Linked DNA regions of Homo sapiens: regions 1, 2 and 4 are each linked to region 3. The links are contacts of gene promoters, found by promoter capture Hi-C in human tissues and cell types (Jung and others, 2019). All regions are on one chromosome and are shown on one strand. The core of a region is centred on a gene start or on the middle of the fragment in contact, and the rest is flanking DNA. Distances in the headings are between cores, read along the strand shown. Region 1 overlaps TRIM24 (tripartite motif containing 24). Region 2 has its middle 110 kb from the start of TRIM24. Region 3 holds the start of TMEM213 (transmembrane protein 213). Region 4 has its middle 5.3 kb from the start of TRIM24.

What was found. The method cuts DNA at HindIII sites, captures the fragments that hold promoters and counts their contacts. A contact is called where the count stands out against the background at its distance.
Region 1: a fragment that was not itself captured here is called in contact with the fragment with the promoter of TMEM213 in region 3 in 1 of the 25 tissues and cell types used here (H1 embryonic stem cells).
Region 2: a contact is called between a fragment that was not itself captured here and the fragment with the promoter of TMEM213 in region 3, in 2 of the 25 tissues and cell types used here (dorsolateral prefrontal cortex and pancreas).
Region 4: a fragment that was not itself captured here is called in contact with the fragment with the promoter of TMEM213 in region 3 in 1 of the 25 tissues and cell types used here (bladder).

The regions. Positions count from the first base shown.
Region 1 is chr7:138,480,535-138,485,764 of GRCh38, forward strand. The region is part of intron 1 of TRIM24 (tripartite motif containing 24); the gene reads left to right. It overlaps LOC124901843 (small nucleolar RNA U13), which reads right to left and starts at 2,049; the gene lies at 1,946-2,049. The HindIII fragment of the contact is 3,434 bases long and covers 1,631-5,064 here.
Region 2 is chr7:138,348,123-138,353,560 of GRCh38, forward strand. No RefSeq gene overlaps it. Among named protein-coding and RNA genes, the nearest start is that of TRIM24, 110 kb to the right of the region's middle. RefSeq lists a cis regulatory region at 4,370-5,333. The HindIII fragment of the contact is 6,739 bases long and covers 1-5,438 here.
Region 3 is chr7:138,794,810-138,799,827 of GRCh38, forward strand. TMEM213 (transmembrane protein 213) reads left to right here and starts at 3,185. Exons shown (of 3, transcript NM_001085429.2): 1 at 3,185-3,377. The coding sequence starts at 3,296. It overlaps ATP6V0A4 (ATPase H+ transporting V0 subunit a4), which reads right to left and starts at 3,387. Exons shown (of 22, transcript NM_020632.3): 1 at 3,225-3,387. RefSeq lists a silencer at 3,155-3,449. The HindIII fragment of the contact is 6,104 bases long and covers 1,378-5,018 here.
Region 4 is chr7:138,452,411-138,457,420 of GRCh38, forward strand. No RefSeq gene overlaps it. Among named protein-coding and RNA genes, the nearest start is that of TRIM24, 5.3 kb to the right of the region's middle. The HindIII fragment of the contact is 3,645 bases long and covers 1,317-4,961 here.

The DNA.
Region 1 (5,230 bases), core at 2,098-4,597, 310 kb before region 3:
CTCTTTTTAAAGCAATGAAGCTATTAACATTCTTGTTAATATATCCTGCTGTTCGTATATGTGAGTCCTGAGGTTTTGGTGTGTGGGTGTTTTTTTGTTTTGTTTTGTTTTTTTAAATACGGTAAGGCAGAATTCCTGATCATAGAGAAGGTGAACGCTCAAGTTAACTTACCAACTCTCATATACCCACTAGCAGTTCATGTATGTTCCTGTTGGCTCAGATGTAGATGTTCACTAACATTTTGTATTATCAATCTTTTTATTTTTTGGCAACCTCGTGGGTGTTTCCTGTTAACTTATTGGGATCTGAGAAGCTTTTCCTAAGTACCAGTTAGGTTGAGCACTTTCCATATCCATCATTTAGATTTCAGCTATTGTGAAGCACTTGTTTGAGTCTCTCCTATTTTTTCTTTTTGTTGGGTTATTTAAACTTTTTTTTTCATTTTTTAAAAAGTTATTATTATTATTATTTTTTAAGACAGAGTTTCACTCTTGTTGCTCAGGCTGGAGTGCAATGGTGTGATCTCAGCTTGCTGCAACCTCTGACCCCCAGGTTCAAGCGATTCTCCTGCCTCAGCCTCCCGAGTAGTAGGGATTACAGGCATGCGCCACTACGCCCGGCTAATTTTGTATTTTTAGTAGAGATGGGGTTTCTCCATGTTGGTCGGGCTGGTCTCAAACTCCCGAGCTCAGTGATTCACCTGCCTTGGCCTCCCAAGTTATTATTTTTTTTATGAGACTTGATCTTGTTGTGTTGTCCAGGCTGGTCTCAAACTCCTGGGCTCAAGCAATCCTTCTGCCTCAGCCTCCCAAATATCTGGGATGACAAGTATGCGCCACCGTGTCTGGCTATTTTAATTTTAATAGGAGTTATTTTATATTCTCGCTATCTTCTTCCATTCTGTTTGCCTTTTTTATAGGGTCTTTTATTTTTTGAATTTGAATTTTTGAATTTTATGAATCTCTGTGGTAAGTACTCTCGTTTTAAGAATCTTTCTGGGCTGGGCGCTGTAGCTCACACCTGTAATCCCAGTACTGTGGGAGGATCACTCGAGCCCAGGAGTTTGAGACTAGTGTGGGCAACATAGGGAGACCTTATCTCAATACAAACAAACAAACAAACAAAACGAGCCAGGCATGGTGGCACAAGCCTGTGATCTCAACTACTTGAGAGGCTAATGTGGGAAGATTGCTTGGACCCAGGAGGACCCAGGGCTGCAGTGAGCCTTCATCATACCACAGCACTCCAGCCTGAGTAACAGAGCAAGACCCTGTCTCCAAAAAAAAAGAAAAAAGAAAATATTTTATTTTAAAAGCTCTATAATTTTTCCTTCACATTTGGGTTTTCGTTTCATCTGCAGTTGATTTATGTGTATGGTGAGGTTGCAGTCCAGTTTCACTTTCTACCTGCTATCCAAGCCCCATTAGCGGAAAATAGTACCATTCTTTTCCCAGTGCTCTACACCGCCGTGCTTATAATTATGTATGCGTGAGTCTGTTTCTTCCTTAGCGTCTGATTTCTCTTTCTCAGGCAGTTTTAATCTGTTGATCTATTTGTTACTACCTGCACCAGGGCCACACTTTTTTTTCCTTTTAGAAAAAAGGGTCTTGCTATGTTGCCCAATTTGGTCTCGTACTCCTGACCTCAAATTGTCCTCCTGTCTTGGTCTTGGGATTACAGGCATGAACCACTGCTTGGCCCACATTCTCTTTACAGTAGTTTTTGACAGCTGGCAAAGCAAGTCCTTATGTAACCCCTTACCAATACCTGTAATTATTTTTCAGAAGCATCTTCTAATTGTTTTTTAGCTATTTGAATTATCACATAAGAATCCACCTGTCAGGTTTCACAAAAAAACATGATAGGCTATTGGGATTATGAGAAATTGATAAAAAAAATCACTTTGGGGAGAATATTATTATGCTTCTTAATTTTTTTCCTTTAAGTCAGATGGGTAGCGTGGTAGCATCCTAACAAAGTTTGAAGGAGGCACATCGTACACATATGCCTGAAAACCTGATCATCATGCTTATGAACCACAAAAGGATCTTATGCTTTCTTTACCGACTCGTTAAGTATAATTATTCCCATTGAGATTTTGCAAGTCTTCTCTTAAAGTTTTTCTAGGTACTTGATAGGTTATGATGCTACTGTAAATGATATTCCATTTTAACTTCATTCTACCTTTTTGTTCCTGGTAAATATAAATACAAATGTGTGGGGTTTTTTTTCCTTTTTATTATTTTTTGTAGTGATGGTGTCTCACTATGTTGCCCAGGTGGGTCTTGAACTCCTGGACTCAAGTGATCCTCTCACTTTGGCCTCTCAAAATGCTGAGAGCTTTTGGCCACTGTGCCTGGCCCAAATATGTTTTATGTCTTAATTTGTTTTTGTTTTTTTGAGCCACAGTCTCCTTCTGTCACCCAGGCTGGAGTGCAGTGGCACAGTCAGGGATCACTGCAGCCTCAGCCTCCTGGGCTCAAGTCATCTTCCCACCTCATCCTCTCGAGTAGCTGGGACTACAGGCATGTACCACCATGCTCAGCTAATTTTTCCTCATTTTTGTAGCGGGGGGGGTCTCACTTTGTTGCCCAGGCTGGTGTCAAATCCCTACACTCCTCTGGCCTCAAATGCCTACACTCCTCTGGCCTTGGCCTCCCAAAGTGCTGGGATCCTAGGCATTAGCCACTGTGCCTGGACCCAAATGTTAAAAAATTTTTTTTTCAATAACTTTGTTAAATCTTTCTAATTCTAGTAAGTTCTCTGTAGCTTTGTTTGGCTTCTCTTGTATCTAATCATATCATCTGTGAATAATGACAGTGTTTATTATTTCCAATCTTTATGCCTTTTCTTTTTCTTGCTTTATCATGCTGCCTAAATTCTCCATTGTTGAATAAAAGTCAAGCCAGTGGAAATTTATCTTGTTCCTGATCTCAGAAAGGAAGCTTCAACATTACACCATTAAATAGGAAGTTTGCTGTAGGATTTTATATAGATCTTTTATAAGCATATAGATATTCCCATTGGTGAGGGAGGGATTCCTGCCATAGGATTATGAGGTTGGCCCAATACATAACAACTGACACTGGGCAGATGAAATTGACAACAGTTTATTAGTCACATAGACTTGTATAGCCCTGGGGAGGACACTACATTGCCAGGCAGGGCCACATGATGGTTGCACTTGGGACGGAGTAAACAAACAGGGACTGTGGGAGGTAGCCTTTTTATGTAGTATCATGAAAGTGGGGTGCCCCTGGTTCCCACAGGAGGATGAGATTGGCTTGTTTGAATAATTATATAGGTTGGCAAGGAACTGAAACTCAATATTTAAGCATAAGCAGAAATTGTGCCTGGTCGCTTTGATAAAGAGTATTTGGTTAAGGGACCCTCTCTGTGGAAGTAGAGTGGGGAGGAGAACTTGTGGTTAGGCTGTTCAAAGTCCTCCCGGTTTTACCAGAATCAAGGCAGTACATAATATTGAACCTCAATTCTAGGCCATATACCTCCCCATTTATTTTCTAATATTCACAGAGGCATGTGTGTCTGTGAGTGTATCTTTTTGATCATAAATAGATTTTTTTTTTTTTTGAGACGGAGTTTCGCTCTTGTTGCCCAGGCTGGAGTGCAATGGCGCGATCTTGTCTCACCTCAACCTCCGCCTCCCGGGTTCAAGTTATTCTCCTGCCTCAACCTCCTGAGTAGCTGGGATTACAGGCATGTGCCACCATGCCTGGCTAATTTTGTATTTTTAGTAGAGATGGTGTTTCACCATGTTGGTCAGACTGGTCTGGAACTCTTACCCTCAGGTGATCCACCCACCTAGGCCTCCCAAAGTACTGGGATTATAGGCATGAGCCACCACGCCTGGCCTTAGATTTTTTTTTTTTTAATATACTTTTTCTTATGTATCTAGTGAAAGCATAATTGTTCCTTTAATCTGTTAGGTGGTGAGTTCTAAGAATTGATTTTCTAATAGTAAAATAAACTTTCCTAGGCAGAAGTCTACTTTGTGATGGCATATTATTCTTTTCACATGCTGTAGGATTTGGTTTGCTAATACTTTGTTTATTACTTTTATGTTTATGAATTACCTTGGCCTGTGGTTTTTCTTTGTAATACTGCCCTTATGAATTTTTTTGTAGAGTTAGGCGAACTTCATAAAATGAATTACAGAGTGCTACTGATTTAATTTCCCTGAAGGAATTTCATGATACTTACAATCCCTGTGTAAGTTTGGAATTAAAGTATTTCTTGAATATATGGTAGCAGTCAGGGACTGGGCCTTTCTTTGTGGGAAGATTTTAACTCTGGATTCAGTTTTCGTAAAGGTTTATCTATAGGACTCTATTCTACTTGAGATACTATGGTAGACAGTTTCTTTTTTTCTAGGAATTTATACATTTTATATAAATTTTCAATTTTATTGATATAGGTAGTTGATAATAACCTCTTGGTAATTCTTTCTCTGTGTCATCTAACGTTATGAATTTTCTTTTTCATTCCCAGTGCTGATTTTATAGGCCTTCCCTATTTCTTTCTCTTTCCTCAATATGGATTTTCAATTTTATTGGTTTCTTTGAAAAAATACATTAATCGTTCTGTTTCATTTTATTAATTTCCTTTTATTTGGGAATATTTTACTATGCCTTGTCAATGTTTTGAGTACTTTTTTTTACAGTAGTAAAATATACATAACATAAAATTTACTACTTTAATCATATTCAAGTATATAATTCTGTGGCATTAAGTACATTCATAGTGTTCTGTAACTTTCACTGCTATTTCCAGAACTTTTTCATCATCCTGAGAAGAACTTTTTTTTTTTTTAATTATACTTTAAGTTCTAGGGTACATGTGCACAATGTGCAGGTTTGTTACATATATATGCATGTGCCATGTTGGTTTGCTGCACCCATTAACTCATCATTTACATTAGGTATTTCTCTTAATGCTGTGCCTCCCCCATCCCCTCACCCCATGACAGTCCCTGGTGTGTGATGTTCTCTGCCCTGTGTCCAAGTGTTCTCATTGTTCAGTTCCCACCTATGAGTGAGAACATGCAGCATTTGGTTTTCTGTTTGCTCAGAATGATGGTTTCCAGCTTCATCCATGTCCCTACAAAGGACATGAACTCATCCTTTTTTATGGCTGCATAGTATTCCATGGTGTATATGCGCCACATTTTCTTAATCCAGTCTATCACTGATGGACATTTGGGTTGGTTCC
Region 2 (5,438 bases), core at 1,892-4,391, 450 kb before region 3:
ATATTTCTGGAGATCTCAATCCTTACATGGGCAATGCTGTTATTAAGTCTCTATTCTTTTTTTTTTTTTTTTTTTTTTTGACAGAGTCTTGCTCTGTTGCCCAGGCAGGAGTGCAATGGCACGATCTTGGCTCACTGCAACCTCTGCCACCCAGGCTCAAGTGATTCCCCTGCCCCAGCCTCCCGAGTAGCAGAGATTACAGGTGCCCACCACCATGCCCGGCTAATTTTTGTGTTTTTAGTAGAGATGAAGCTTCACCATGTTGGCCAGACTGGTCTCGATTCTTAATTTTAGAAGAAATACTGCTTGTCCAAGGGCCATTCTTCTACGGACATATGTGCTAAATTGTATTCTCAAGAACACTGTTAAGTGTGACTTGAAAAACAAGTTTGTGAAACACTAAATCAGAGTTAAGCAGGTATATTTACATCAAGACTTCTCAAAACTTTGATATAGGATATTAAATAAGATGCATGAATCTTCAAATGGGGAGTGTTTCATACAACTTTTCAAAATATATTGACTTTTATTACAAGCAGCATAAATTGTTATATACTTAATGTTGTCCTGAATACATGTTGAGAAATGCTAAGTTAGAAATAGCTGAATCCACCCGGTGCTGGTCTCCAACTCCTGACCTCAGGTGATCCGCCTGCTTTGGCCTCCCAAAGTGCTGGGATTACAGGCGTGAGCCACTGCGCCTGGCCCCTGCCTTCACTTTTGTGTGCAGCCAACCCTAGACCATGGCCCCAGCTGAGCTGCAAGCTGACCTTAGAGATCTGCCAGCTGACCTTAAAGATCTGCCAAACCAGTCCAGACCAGAAATCCTCCCAGCCAAACCCACAGAGTCCTGAGAAATAACAAATATTCCTTATTTTAAGCCACTAAGTTTTTGGATAATTTGTTATACAGCAAATCTGATGGATACAAACAATCTAAACAGATTAGGAAAACAGCATCAGGCCTGGTGGCTGGCGCCTGTAATCCCAGCACTTTGGGAGGTCGAGGCGGGTGGATCACCTGAGGTCAGGAGTTCAAGACCAGCCTGGCCAACATGGGGAAACCCTGTTTCTACTAAAAATACAAACTTAGCCGGGTGTGGTGGCACATGCCTGTAATCCCAGCTACTCAGGAGGCTGAGACAGGAGAATCACTTGAACTTGGGAGGTGGAAGTTGTAGTGAGCTGAGATCACGCCATTGCACTCCAGCCTGGGCAACAAGAGTGAAACTCCTTCTCAAAAGAACAACAACAACAACAAAAAAGATTAGGAAAACAGTATGTCAAATGAAAAATAGCAAAAGCAACTCAACAATAATTCATTTTTAAAATTTTTACATAGGCAAATGACATAAATAAGCTATTGACAAAAAAAGAACTTAACCGTGAGTTTCTTAAGAGAAAAAAATAAAAACATATGTAATAACATAGGAAAGAGATACTTACAAAGTAGTATATTCAATATAACCTCAATTATCTAAAAAAAAAAATTGTCTATATTTTCTGAGAAATAAATGACTGGAAAAATACAGAGCCAAGTGTTGACAATAGTTATATTTGTAGATGGAGTTAAGAGAATTGTAGTAGAAAATTATTTCAGGAACTTTATTCATTCTCTCAAGGCCTCAGAAGCTTTTACCTTCAATATTCAACAGTGACGCTTCCTCTGAGAAATACTCTCAGAAATACTGTACAGAGACTATTTATGCATATGGATGTTATGTGTAAAAATTAGAGTAGAAAACTGTGTCAGTCAAAATATAGAGATTATATATGGTACAAATTCAGCTCTGTGACAGACAACACTAAAATGATTAGAGAAAAACACACTTGCCAAAAAATATAAGCCTAAGTCTAGTAGGACTGAAAATGTGCCAAAAGAGAACATGAGTACAGTGCCAAGTGAAAACCCTCTGTCAAGTGTACCCTCTCTGTCCAGAGAATTGCACAGATGGATTGGAGATGGGGAAAGACAGGACCTCCATCGACGTGAACATCCAATAGCTGCAATAGACAGTCTAGGCTTTCATTCATTGCAGTACACATAAAACACACTCAAGGAGATTGAAAAAAAAACCCTCAAGCATCCCATATTCTGATTCTGATCAAATGGAACTGCTTCACAGACTGATTTTCCTGAGGATTCCATAAGAACACTTTTCCAAGCCCAGGAGCAGTGGCACAGGCTTATAATCCCAGCACTTAGAGAGGCCGAGGCAGTTGCATCACCTGAGGTCAGGAGTTCAAGACCAGCCTGGCCAACATGGTGAAACCCCATCTTAACTAAAAATACAAAAATTAGCTGGGCACAGTGGCTCACACCTGTAATCCAAGCTACTCGGAAGGCAGAGGCAGGAAAATGGCTTGAACCTGGGGGGTGGAGGTTGCAGTGAGCTGAGATCGTGCCACTGCACTCCAGCCTGGGCAACACTCTTCCAGCTATACTCATCTGCTATGAAACCATCGCCAAGGAAATTTTATAAAACTGATTAAGGGAAAAAAAATAAAATTCAACTAGGCTTGCAGCATAATCAGCAGTAATCATTCAGCCAGCTTGCCCTTTTGCCCACTTCCTTGTAGCTTGTTGCTGCTTACTGCCCCAGGATAACGTAGCCCTTGTCACAAGACTCTGTTCATTTTCTGTTCTATAGATAAAATCTAAGACATTGTGAAGTAAGCTTTCCATTTCAATTTCTCTTTTAGGTTCTGCTCACTGATAAAACTACTGACGTCAGCTGTTCTGAAGGACCCAGCAAGGAGCTGACTCATGGAAGATTGCAGTTTCTACCTAATGATCTCATCCTCCTTACCCTGACCAATCAATGACCCCAATTTTCCAGCCCCTCATCATCCATGATCCACTTAAAAACCTTTCCCCAGAACTCCTTGGAGAGATGGATTTGAGACTTGAGGATTCCATCTTTCTCCTCACTCAGTGGCCTTGGGATTACTAAGCTCCTTCTCTGCTGCAAACCCCACTGTCTCAGTGTATTGGTTTATTGCTATACACAGGCAAACAAATCTGCCAATCCTATAAGACTTAGGAGTCTCCAAAAGTCTCTTAGACTCAGATTTGGGATTTTACCTGGGTGGAGGTAGATCTCTTTGTCTCTCTTACTGATACTCTGTGAATAATTAAAAGTGGGAGAGGGTGTGAATTTTAAAATCTTTGAAAACAACCCTACCTTTGCATGATTGTGTTTCTCTAAATAGACTTATGGGGTGAATATTGTCTGTTATCAAGAAATTATTGAGATTCTTAATTAGAGTTTTCAAAATTCAAACTTGACACTACTAATTTCACCTTCTCCTTTTTATGTTATTTTTAAATTTTTAAATTTTTATTTTTTTGAAACAGAGTCTCGCTGTGTTGCCCAGGCTGGAGTACAGTGGCATGATCTTGGCTCTCCGCAACCTCCACCTCCTGGGTTCAAGTGATTCTTCTGCCTCAGCCTCCCAAGTAGCTGGGGCTATGGGTGTGCACCACAACACCCAGCTAATTTTTCTATTTTTAGTAAAGATGGGGTTTCACCAAGGTGGCCAGGCTGGTCTCAAACTCCTGGCCTCAAGTGATCCACCTGCTTCAGGCTCCCAAAGTGCTAAGATTACAGGCGTGGGCCACTGCACCCGGCCATCTTCTCTTTCTTAATTTAATCTCTATGTAATTATTTTCAAAGAGAGAAAAATTAATGTTCTTAATTTTCATATCTTATTAACAATTTATTTTTTAATGGCATTATTTTTAAAATGGCAAATATAAAAATCTCAAGGGGCTGGTGTCCCTGGAATTTTTTTTTTTTTTTTTGTCATTGTTGTTTGGTTTTATTCACTGCTAAGAGTCATATGAAGTCCCTGGGCTTAAATGCTAGATCTAATAATGAAGATAATTTGGCAGTCATAGTGGCCCAGAGCATGAATTCAGTCAGAAAGGTCTCAAAGACACAGATTTCTATCAGTGTATATAGATAGCCTATTTCTCTATTTCTCCCAGCTTTTTTTTTTTTTTTGAGATGGAGTCTCGCTCTGTCGCCCAGGCTGGAGTGCAGTGGCTCGATCTCGGCTCACTGCAACCTCTGCCTCCCGGGTTCAAGTGATTCTCCTGCCTCAGCCTCCCAAGTAGCTGGGACTACAGGCGCCCGTCACCACACCTGGCTAATTTTTGTATTTTTTAGTAGAGATGGGTTTCACCATATTGGCCAGGCTGGTCTCCAACTCCTAACCTCAGGTGATCTGCCCACCTCGGCCTCCCAAAGTGCTGGGATTACAGACATGAGCCACCACACCCAGCCTATTTCTCCCAGCTTTATAGGCCCTGGACAAATGCCTAAAATGTTGTAAACTCCCACAAATAAGGGAGAGAGCCTAATATTCCAAAAGAAAATGGAGGGGCAAAGAAGTATTAATATTTATGGCTATAAAAGACAATATATAACATATTAAATCTGAATGCTGGCCAAGTAGATGATTGTGGCCAGCGGCATTCCTCAAAGATGGTCACAGCGTTATCTCCCATCCTTTGTACTCATCTGCAATGTGGCCTTCACATTCTTCCTATGATGAAATGGGGTCTACTTTCCTCCCCTTTACTCCAGGCTGACTTGTGACTCATTGCCTTTCAAGGTTAGATCAGACGAGGCATTGCAGCTTCCGCCCTGCTCACTAGAATACTCACTGTTGAAATCTGCAACTGCTAGATAAGTAGTGCAACTACCCTGAGGCCCGGACTAGCCCAACCCAGTCGCATGGTGAGACCTGGAGAGGCCAGATAGTGAGAGAGTGGAGGGCCGGCCCCAGCGGCTCTAGCCCCATGCTGTTGCAGCCCCAGCCATTCTCTGACAGCAACCTCAGGAAGGATCCCAAGCCAGACCCACCCAGGCAAGCCCTCTTGCAGCAAAGCCCTCCCCCTCACCCACACAAACCAGGTGTGTCCTAAAGGAAAAGTACTGAAGGGCCTTAAGGGACATGATCAGGCCATCTCTGTCCACCAACTGGTGTTTATCAAAGTTAGGCTCCTACGCTTCCACAGAGACTGGAAGACAGGGGCCTTATCTTTCCTAATGATATTTCAAAGGGATGGCTCCCAGGTCCTTGAAAAACATATTCCACAGTTGAAGAAAATAGATATACACCTCAAAAAGACAGAGAAAGGATTTACAATTGCAAGATTTCAAAGGTAAATGGTCCAAGACAAAGGAGGTCAGGGGTCTATCATCAGGTTTTGGCTGCAACTAACAGTAAATTCTTTTGGCAACCTTAAGTTTTTACAGGCAGAAATGTAAGGGGGGCTGGGTTATCCCGGGGCATGGCCTTTGGCCACTAGAAGCCCTACTGGAGATTAGTTAACTCTCTTAGTGTGGAGGTTGAATTGTGTGTTTCTTCTTCTGGAGACTTTTTCACAGCTCTATTTTGCTTTATTTATTTTATTTTATTTTATATTAT
Region 3 (5,018 bases), core at 1,935-4,434:
GTGACACTCGTAAAGTAAAAAGTGGCCACACACACACAGCCCTTTCTTTGGGGTTAATAGTTATCATTGGCCAGTCCAGCCCACCCTATTTTTTTTTTTTTTTTTTGAGACAGAGTCTCACTCTGTTGCCCAGGCTGGAGTGCAGTGGCACAATCACGGTTCACTATAACCTCCACCTCCCCAGTTCAAGTGATTCTCCTGCCTCAGCCTCCCAAGTAGCCGGGATTACAGGCATGCACCACCACGCCTGGCTAATATTTCTGAATTTTTTTAGTAGAGATGGGATTTCACCATGTTAGCCAGGCTGGTCTCGAACTCCTGACCTCAAATGAGCCACCTGCCTCAGTTTCCCAAAGTGCTGGGATTACAGGCCTGAGCCACCGTGCCTGGCCCAGCCTATACTATTTTCGAATAACAAAGTTCTTCCATCTGTAGATAGGAGAATGTTTGTCCTACAAACAGCTCATCTAAAACAGTCCGACATCACATAACAATGATAAAATAGGGAGGGAGGGCCAACACATTATCCCCCTCCTCCACATCCACTGCTTGCCAGAAAAGCTTTCCCTGATACGACTTGATAGGATGGTCTCAGCTTAGGCTGCAGATGCTGTTCAATCCACCACTACAATAACCCCAGGCAGGCCATCTTACATGTTTGCATACCTCAGGTTCCGATTCCATAGGAGGGACAGGCTCTGCTCACGTCAAACACATTAAAATGCACCCAGCGTCCCACATTAAATCGTTTCCGTTTAAACATTTCAAGTGAACTGTATAACTTTGCTTTTGAAACAATCATTTATTTTGCCCAGTTTTTGATTGTTCAAATTTTTGTTTGTTTGTTTGGGGACAGGGTCTCACTGTGTCACCCAGGCTGGAGTGCAGTGGTGCCATCTCAGCTCACTGCAGCCTCAACCTCCTGGGCTCAAGTGATCCTCCCACCTCAGCCTCCTGAGTAGCTGAGACTACAGGTGCACACTACCATACCCAAGTAATTTTTTTGTGTTTTTTTTTGTTTGTTTTGCGGAGGCAGGGTCTTACTATGTTGTGCAGGCTGGTCTTGAACTCCCTGGCTCAAGTGATCTTCCCACCTCGGCCTCCCAAAGTGTTGGGATGACAGGCGTGTGCCAATATGCCTGGTCTGTTCTTCAAATTTTGGATCTGAGAATATTTTCTCAGGTCTCAAACATTTTTGAGATCCTTGGAAATCTTGGGGATTCCACGTACCGCTGTTATCCCTAGTACCCATTGGATAAATCAGTCCTGCCCTGTGAAGCCCACTGCAGGGTTTACTTGTGAGGAAAACATCGAGGACAGCATTTGTTCTACTAAGCAGCGTCCTCTCTGTGGGGACCTTGAGTTCCTTGAGCACAAGGGCTGTGTGGTCTTTCTCACCCCCAGGTCCCCACACCGAGAGCCTGGCCTGGCATGCAACTGTTTAATGTTCAACTAGTGGTAATGCCTAAACTGGACTTCTGTGCACTGACTGAAAATCACCCTTCCTAGGGCACGTTGGCCCTATCCCCAAATCCAGGAACATAGGCCACCACTATTTTATATCTTAGAGCCAATTAGAAAAAAGTGCCTCCCCTGGGCTGTTACACTCCACTAGGAAATCTTTCCTTGGGGCTTACTCACGCCTTCTATGTCTTTCCACAGAGCTGGAGTCCACCCCTCACCCTTACCAGGCCCATTCATGCGCAGGAACACTTCCACACATGGCAGGCTGTGTGCACACAGACGATTCCCTCGCCTTTATAGGTGCTATTCCTTTGACTTGAAAAGCCCATCAACTCTAATCTGCACATACAAACTTCAGCACCCAGCCCAAATGTCACTTTCTCTGTGAATCCTTCCCCTATACCTCTCAGGCAGAGTTCATCCCATCCTCCTTTTTATTCCCATCACAGTGGAAGGTACCCCTATTTGAGTCTTGCCAGGTTGCATCAAATTTCTTTCTTCCGGGTTTGGTTCCCTGCTGCACTGTGCTCTCAAGGGGAAGAGGCGTGTCTCAGTCATCTCAGTCTCCAGTGCCTAGGATGAGACCTTTTATATACATGTGGGTCTTCAATAAATGTTTTAGACGGAATGCAGAGCTCTAGTCAAGTTACTCCTCAGCTCAAAATCTCTACAGAACCTTCCCCTTTGCTTCCTGACTTTGTTTCAAATTCCTCTACCAGGCACGCAGAAGCTTAGCCCACAGCTCTCCTCTTGCCTCCCCACCTCACATGCCTTGGCTCACCTGCGCTTCTGGGTGCTGCTGGTACAGCCACCCTCTGACACTTCCTTACCTCTGGACCTTTGCTCATCTGTCCCTCTACCTATAATGCCATCTTCCCCTCTCCCCCTGTCAAAATTCTAGCCATCCTTCAAGGCCCAGGCCAAATGCCATTTTCTTTTTTTTTTTTTTTTTTTTTTTGGAGATGGAGTCTCCCTCTGTCGGCCAAGCTGGAATGCAGGGTCAGGAGCATCTCAGCTTACTGCAACCTCTGTCTTCCGGGTTCAAGCGATTTTCCTGCCTCAGCTTCCCAAGTGGCTGGGACTACAGGCATGCACCACCACACCTGGCTAATTTTTGTATTTTTATTAGAGATGGGGTTTCACCATTTTGGCCAGGCTGGTCTTGAACTCCTGACTTCAAGTGATCCACCTGCCTCAGCCTCCCAGAGTGCTGGGACTACAGGGTGAGCCCCCATGCCCAACCTCAAATGCCATTTTCTTCTTGAAGCATCCCATCAGCAGATGTGGCCTCCACTGTTGAAACCCACAGTGCTTTATCCTCCCAAGCCATTCCTCAAACACGGTTCTGGGGTTGAATGATGCGTGTTTGTAATTAACGCACTTCGACAGCAGGTATCTCCCAACTTCAGCATAGTGGGTGCTCAGTGAATATTGGCCCAAATGGAATTGAGCATCCATGCTACACCTGCAGATGGGAGAGGCAGCAAACTCATGTCCCAGGAACCAGCATGACACAGATCTCTCTTGTCCTCCCCTTGTTTCTCAATAAGGACAATATTTGCGCTCAGGGGAGAAGGGCACAGCTTGCCCCTCCCTTCCTTCCTCAGCCAACGGTTTGGCTTCCCTTCTAGAGAGGTGAGAGAAGGTGTGACAGGCCAAGTTTCCTTTGCTCCACCCCATGGTGTTTCCCCCAAACACCCAGCATAAGTTCACCTCTGGCAGAGTTGCTTTCCAGCTCCTGCAGGTGGGAGTCGACTCACCTGCAGCAGGCACTCGGCACAACTCCGCAGGACCGGCTCACCTGCACCGGGCACTCAGCACAGCCTCCAGCATGCAGCGCCTCCCCGCTGCCACCCGGGCCACCCTGATCCTCAGCCTGGCCTTTGCCTCCCTCCACTCGGCTTGCTCGGCAGGTAGCGTTATGAGCTTTATTCATGGCCAGGCTGGGAAGGGGGAGGGAAGGAGGGAAGAGAGGTGGGAGGGAAAGAAGGAGGAGGGGGAAGATTCTTTGGCCAGGGTTGGTCCTGCGCAAAGGAAGGAGGAAACAGAACTTTCTCATCTGAAGGATTAGGCAGGGGGTGGGAGGTGGGGCTGGGGCAGGGGGGGTCTTAGGTTGGCCTGAGACGGAGATCAGATACTCAATTCCTCAGCTAAGGCAGGAGCAGCCACCTCTCTTGGCCTTTGCCACAAAGAAAGGAAAAAGTTATTTGCTGGAGTCTCACCCATCAGGGGACCAAAATGATATCTCTTGGTCCGCTGTGTCCTGAAGGCTCCTTCTCAGCCCCACTGGGCTGTCGTGCTTTGCAATCCTCCCTGTGCACATTTGTGTCTGACCTTCCCTTTCCTAAGTCCTCCATCCCTCCCTGCCCCTTGTACTTTCTCTGCGACTTTCACAAAACCTGACTGCCAGGAGGGCTGCCATTCACTGTCTCCCACCCTCCTGCCTCCCCGGGCACTGGAAATGCTGGGTTATCTCCCCATTTTCCTGTGGAGGCTGGAAGGCTGATCTACATCCCCTGCCTTGCCCTGCCAGGCCGGGTTCTGCAACTCACGGCAGAGGGACCTTGGTTACCATCTTCTGCTCCTGGCTTTGATCTTGTTCTCAGCCACCTCAGAACACCACCACACTCTCTATGCCCTGCAACACTCCTGCTCCCAAAACCAACCCTGCCCCCAAAGTCCTGTGTCTGCCCCTCTCATCCTCAGACTCTCTTCTGTAGCCACTGCCAGGGGTGTTGGTGTTGAGGTTCAAGACGTGCACTCTTGAGCCGCTGAGCCTGAACCCAGGTCCAGCTTCCATGACTCACTAGCTATGCGACCTCGAGCAAATGACTTTACCTCTCTATGCCAAGTTTCCTCCTTTATCTCATGGGGACAATCATAGTGCTTGTCAAGACGAATTGATGTAATTTCATGTAAAGAACTTAGAAATAGCCCATAGAACACACACAGTGAATGTCAGCAATTATGGTAAGCACATTCATTTTATTTTCCAACTTCACCCCTCCCCAAATAAGAGTGCTGAGTTTCTTTCTACTTACCCCGACAGTGCCTTGCTTATGATGGGAGCTCAGAATCAGAAGACAAGTTTAACTGCACTGAATCGTTGGGTCTTCCCAGCAGCTTTTCTTGTGGAATAGCCCCAAGTAGGGCCAGTCCCTCCCTCGCTTCTGGCTCTGCTTATAAGGGAGGAGGGCGATGTTTAAATTCTTAGGAATTTTCACCGGGGCTATTCCATTTGAACCACAGAAAATTGCTGATATTGAACAATTTTCACCTATAACAATGGCAATTTCATAAGCTCGAACCTAACCCTAGCATTCAGCCAACTAGGGTTTTTTTCCACTCACTTTGGAAGAGGACAACTTCCATTCTAGGTGTAGAGGTGAAATGAAAGTCAGGGCCAAGGAAGTTATTTGAGTCATAAGGAAAATTAGAATAGTGAGGAATCAGTTTCTCCAAAACAAATAAAGACCAGGCTCTAAGCCATTTAGCTGTAAATAATTTACAGTAACAGATTGCATCGAGGCAATTACTATACTTTAAGCAGGACA
Region 4 (5,010 bases), core at 1,889-4,388, 340 kb before region 3:
TAAAAAAATAAATAAATAAAAATAAAAATAAAATAAAAGTTGCTGTATATCACCACCATGAAAACAAACGTTATGTAACAAATGAAGATTTGTCTCATATAAGTAAACTTAAATGTTTCAAAAATCCAAAAGAATGTCATTTCTTTTTTTTTTTTTTTTTTTTTTTTTTGAGATGGAGTCTTGCTCTGTCATCCAGGCTGGAGGGCAGTGGTGTGATCTTGGCTCACTGCAAACTCTGTCTCACTCCCACCACCAACCCCTTCTGGGCTCAAGCAATTCTCCTGCCTCAGCCTCCTGAGCAGCTGGGATTACAGGCACCCACCACTAAGCCTGGCTAATTTTTTTTGAATTTTTAGTAGAGACGGGGTTTCATCATGTTGGCCGGGCTGGTCTCGAACACCTGACCTCAGATGATCCACCCGCCTTGGCCTCCCAAAGTGCTGGGATTACAGGCGTGAGCCACCTCGCCTGGCCAAGAATGTCACTTTCAAAAGTACAAATGCATACAATGAATTCTACCTCCAAGGAAAATATTTCTTTAAAAGGAGAAATTGCTTCTGCTATTGCTGCATTTTTTGTTGTGTTGTGCTAGGATACTTGGCTTACAAATTATTTCCTGTGAATAAACCATGTCATCATTTTCATTGAGTCCTTTCAATCTCCCACTTTGGTCCACTCATCCAACTCACTTCCTGGCTCTCTTCACTATTTGCCCCTCATAGAGTGTGATGCATGTCCTCATTTTCCAGCTCCTAGTTGCTCTGTTTTTCTTTTTCATTTCTTCTTATGTTATCTGCAACCATTATTTTACTCCATTTGTTTTCCTTCATTTGTTCTCATTGTCTTCCTCATTCTCACCCTCTTTTCCTTCTCTTGATCCTCTTATTGGCTTACTCTTTATTGAGTTTTCCATTGCCTTTTTCCTCTTTTTCCTCTCTGCAATCCCTACCCTCATAATAAAACCTGGTAAAAAGTGCTTCCACAGAAAAGGCAGAACATTAACATGTAGGGATTCACTCTGCCCCGATATTCCCAGAACAGTGCTGCTTGAGTCTAGCCCGAGCCCTTCTGGTGATTGCCCATCCATAGAGTCGGTAAGTTGACCAGAATCCCATTAGTCAATATTCAGTTACAGCTTACCACTCCATTACTTCTGTTCTTCAGAGAGGGGAATAGCTATGCCCCTCTCTTGCCCTACCTCCACTCCCACCCCCACCCCCCACTGCCACTCCCTGGCTCTTTTCCTCCACACTAAATGTTCAGAAGACATTATTTACCTGGGGAGGGGAAGACTGGGGAGGGGAAGCAGTGAGGGAAAGAAATATCTCCTATAATTATCTGTCCTGAGCCTTCCATCTCTCTCTCTCTCTTTTTTTTTTTTTTTTGAGACAGAGTCTTGCTCTGTCTCCCAAATTGGAGCGCAATGGCACGATCTCGGCTCACTGCAATCTCCACCTCCCAGGTTCAAGCGATTCTCGTGCCTCAGCCTCCCGAGTAGCTGGGATTACAGGCACCCACCACCACGCCCAACTAATTTTTGTATTTTTAGTAGAGATCGGGTTTCATCATATTGGCCAGCCTGGTCTTGAATTCCTGACCTCAAATGATCTGCCTGCCTCAGCCTCCCAAAGTTTTGGGATTACAGGTGTGAGCCACTGCACCTGGCTCTTCCATTTCAGTAGAAGATTCAAAAAAGCTAAATACTTGAGGAAAGGAGATATAATTGAGGCAAATACTGAGAATACCACAGAGGGTGAGAGGACCAAAGCATGAGGAAGAAAGTTATAGATGTTTGGTCTCCATGATATTTCTGAGATATTAAAGAAATAGGCCCGGTGCGGTGGCTCACGCCTGTAATCCCAGCACTTTGGGAGGCCGAGGCAAGTGGATCACGAGGTCAGGAGATCGAGACCATCCTGGCTAACACAGTGAAACCCCATCCCTACTAAAAAAAAAAAAAAATACAAAAAATTAGCCGGGTGCGGTGGCAGGCGCCTGTAGTCCCAGCTACTCGGGAGGCTGAGGCAGGAGAATAGCGTGAACCTGGGAGGCAGAGCTTGCAGTGAGCAGAGACAGTGCCACTACACTCCATCCTGGGCGACAGAGCGGGACTCTGTCTCAAAAGAAAAAAAAAGAAATAGGAGCATAAATGATTCTTAGTCTAAATGAATTACAATCTAGTAGGAGAAACTACATGTCCTTTATGTAGGGGGTTCCCAGGATCATCCTTAGTTTCCACAATTTGCTAAAAGGACTCAAAAGATTCAGGAAAAGTTGCTATACTCTCAGGTACAGTTTGTTGTTGTTGTTGTTGTTGTTGTTGTTTTTGAGATGGAGTTTTGCTCGTCACCCAGGCTGGAGTGCAATGGCGAGGTCTCAGCTTACTGCAACCCCCACCTTCTGGGTTCAAGTGATACTCCTGCCTCAGCCTCCTGAGTTGCTGTGATTACAGGCGCCTGCCACCACACCTGGCTAATTTTTGTATTTTCAGTAGAAATGAGGTTTCTACCATTTTGGCCAAGCTGGTCTTGAACTCCTGACTTCAGGTAATCCATCCTCTTTGGCCTCCCAAAGTGCTGGGATTACAGGCGTGAACCACTGCGCCAGGCCTAATCTATATCCTTTTGCTGTAATAAACTGTACCTGAAGCCAGGCACGGTGGCTCATGCCTATAATCCCAGCACTTTGGGAGGCCGAGGCAGGTGAATCACTTGAGGCCAGGAGTTCAGGACCAGCCTGGCCAACATGGCAGAAAACCTGTCTCCATTAAAAATACAAAAATTAGCCGGGTGTGGTGGTGCATGCCTGTAGCCCCGGCTATTCTGGAGGCTGAGGCAGGAGTATTGCTTGAACTCGGGAGGGGGAGGTTGCAGCGAGCCAAGATCGCGCCACTGCACTAAAGCCTGGGCAACAGAGCAAGACTCTGTCTCAAAAAGAAAAAGAAAAAGGATACATGTTAGAATTAGCAAAAGGGAAAAGGTGCATAGACCAAGTCCAGGAGAAGCCAGGAGCGAGCTTCCAGTTGCTCCCTCCGGCACAGCCCCACAGACAGTGCTTCATTCTCCCAGCAATAATGTGTAACAAGACATATGAAGTCTTGCCAACCAGGGAAATGCACCCAAGCCTTGGATTCCAGGTTTTTTATTGGAGATCCTGTAGGCATGCAGCACCTATGTGACTGGTCTTGGCTACTCACTTTCCAGCTTCCCAGAGATCAAACTGACATATAGTGGCCAAGGGCCTCACGTATATAAAACAGGTGTGAGCCATAGGTCACATCCCGAGCATAAACTCTCTGGTCAAATTAATACAGTATGGCCCAAACTCTCAAGCTCTCCTCTTATCAGGCAGGATATTCCAAAAGGGCAGCAGTAACCCCCCAGGAGCGAGTCAAGGGTCAATCCTCTCTTTGGAATGTGCACCATTTGAGTAACCTAAGCTTGCTAAGTTAACCCTTTATTGCACATCCAAGAAGTGTGTTATGTTGACTACAAAATTTTTTAAAAATTATCTAAATTTTTAATCTTCCTGATGGTAGAAAATTTGATGTAGTCATATTTGAGATAATTTGCTTTTGTTTGTTGTGGTTTTGGTCATTTAAGTTCTAAACTCAATCACTACCATATTCATTCTCCCTTTTATCTATCGCTGATTTGAAGGTCCAAGGGTTTAAGAGGGCCATGGCATATGTGGGGAAACACATTAGGTTTTGGGAGGCATTCTTGGTTTACCGTGGCATATGTAGAGTGTGACTTGCCTCCATTCCCGCCCCCCCCCCATAATAAAACATCTGCAAATATTTTCTGTTGTTGTTTTTAAGAAACTGGGTCTTGCTATGTGGCCAAGGCAGACCTCAAACTCCTGAGATCAAGTGATCATCCCTCCTCTGCCTCCTGAGTAGGGGGTATTGCAGGCACGGGTCACCCTACCCGGTTAACAATACAGGTTTTGTTTTCGTTTTTTTAGAGACTGAATCTCGCTATGTTGCCCAGGCTGGAGTGCAGTGACTATTCACAGGCATGGTTATAGTGCACTGTGGCCTGAGACTCCTGGTCTCAAGTGATCCTCCCACCTCAGCTTCCTGAGAAGTGAGGACTACAGCAGTGCACCCTTGTGCTTGGTTTCCATTGGCTTTTGACTGTGGGCCTCCCCATGGACCCCACTGAGATAGTCTGAGATGGCCTTTGGTGCCTACTCATTGCATTCTCCTTATCCTGACTCAAGTCATCCAGACCTCTCAGCTACTTCTGGAAGTCTGAGAATCTTTTCCTTCTTCCTCTAAATCTATAAGAAATTGGGTGAAGGGGTTAGTTCAGACCCTGTATGTCTAAACACGCCTCACAATCAGAGTTCTACTGAAAAATGATTTTCTTTTTTCTTTCTTTTTTTTTTTTGAGATGGAGTTTCACTCTTGTTGCCCAGGCTGGAGTGCAATGGCGCGATCTCAGGTCACCGCAACCTCTACCTCCTGGGTTCAAGTGATTATCTTGCCTCAGCCTCCTGAGTAGCTGGGATTACAGGCATGTGCCACCAAGCCCAGATAATTTTGTATTTTTGGTAGAGATGGGGTTTCTCCATGTTGGTCAGGCTGGTCTCGAACTCCTGACCTCAGGTGATCTGCCCACCTTGGCATTCCAAAGTGCTGGGATTACAGGCGTGAGCCACCGCACCCAGTCCCGAAAAATGATTTTCTTTTCCTTTTTTTTTTTTTGAGACGGAGTCTTGCCTGTCACCCAGGCTGGAGTGCAGCGGTGCGATCTCGGCTCACTGCAAGCTCCATCTCCCGGGTTCACGCCATTCTCCTGCCTCAGCCTCCTGAGTAGCTGGGACTGCAGGCGCCCACCACCATGCCCGGCTAATTTTTTGTATTTTTATTAGAGACGGGGTTTCACTGTGTTAGCCAGGATGGTCTCGATCTCCTGACCTCGTGATCCGCCCGCCTCGGCCTCCCAAAGTGCTGGGATCACAGGCCTAAGCAAGCCACTGTGCCTGGCCGAAAAATGATTTTCT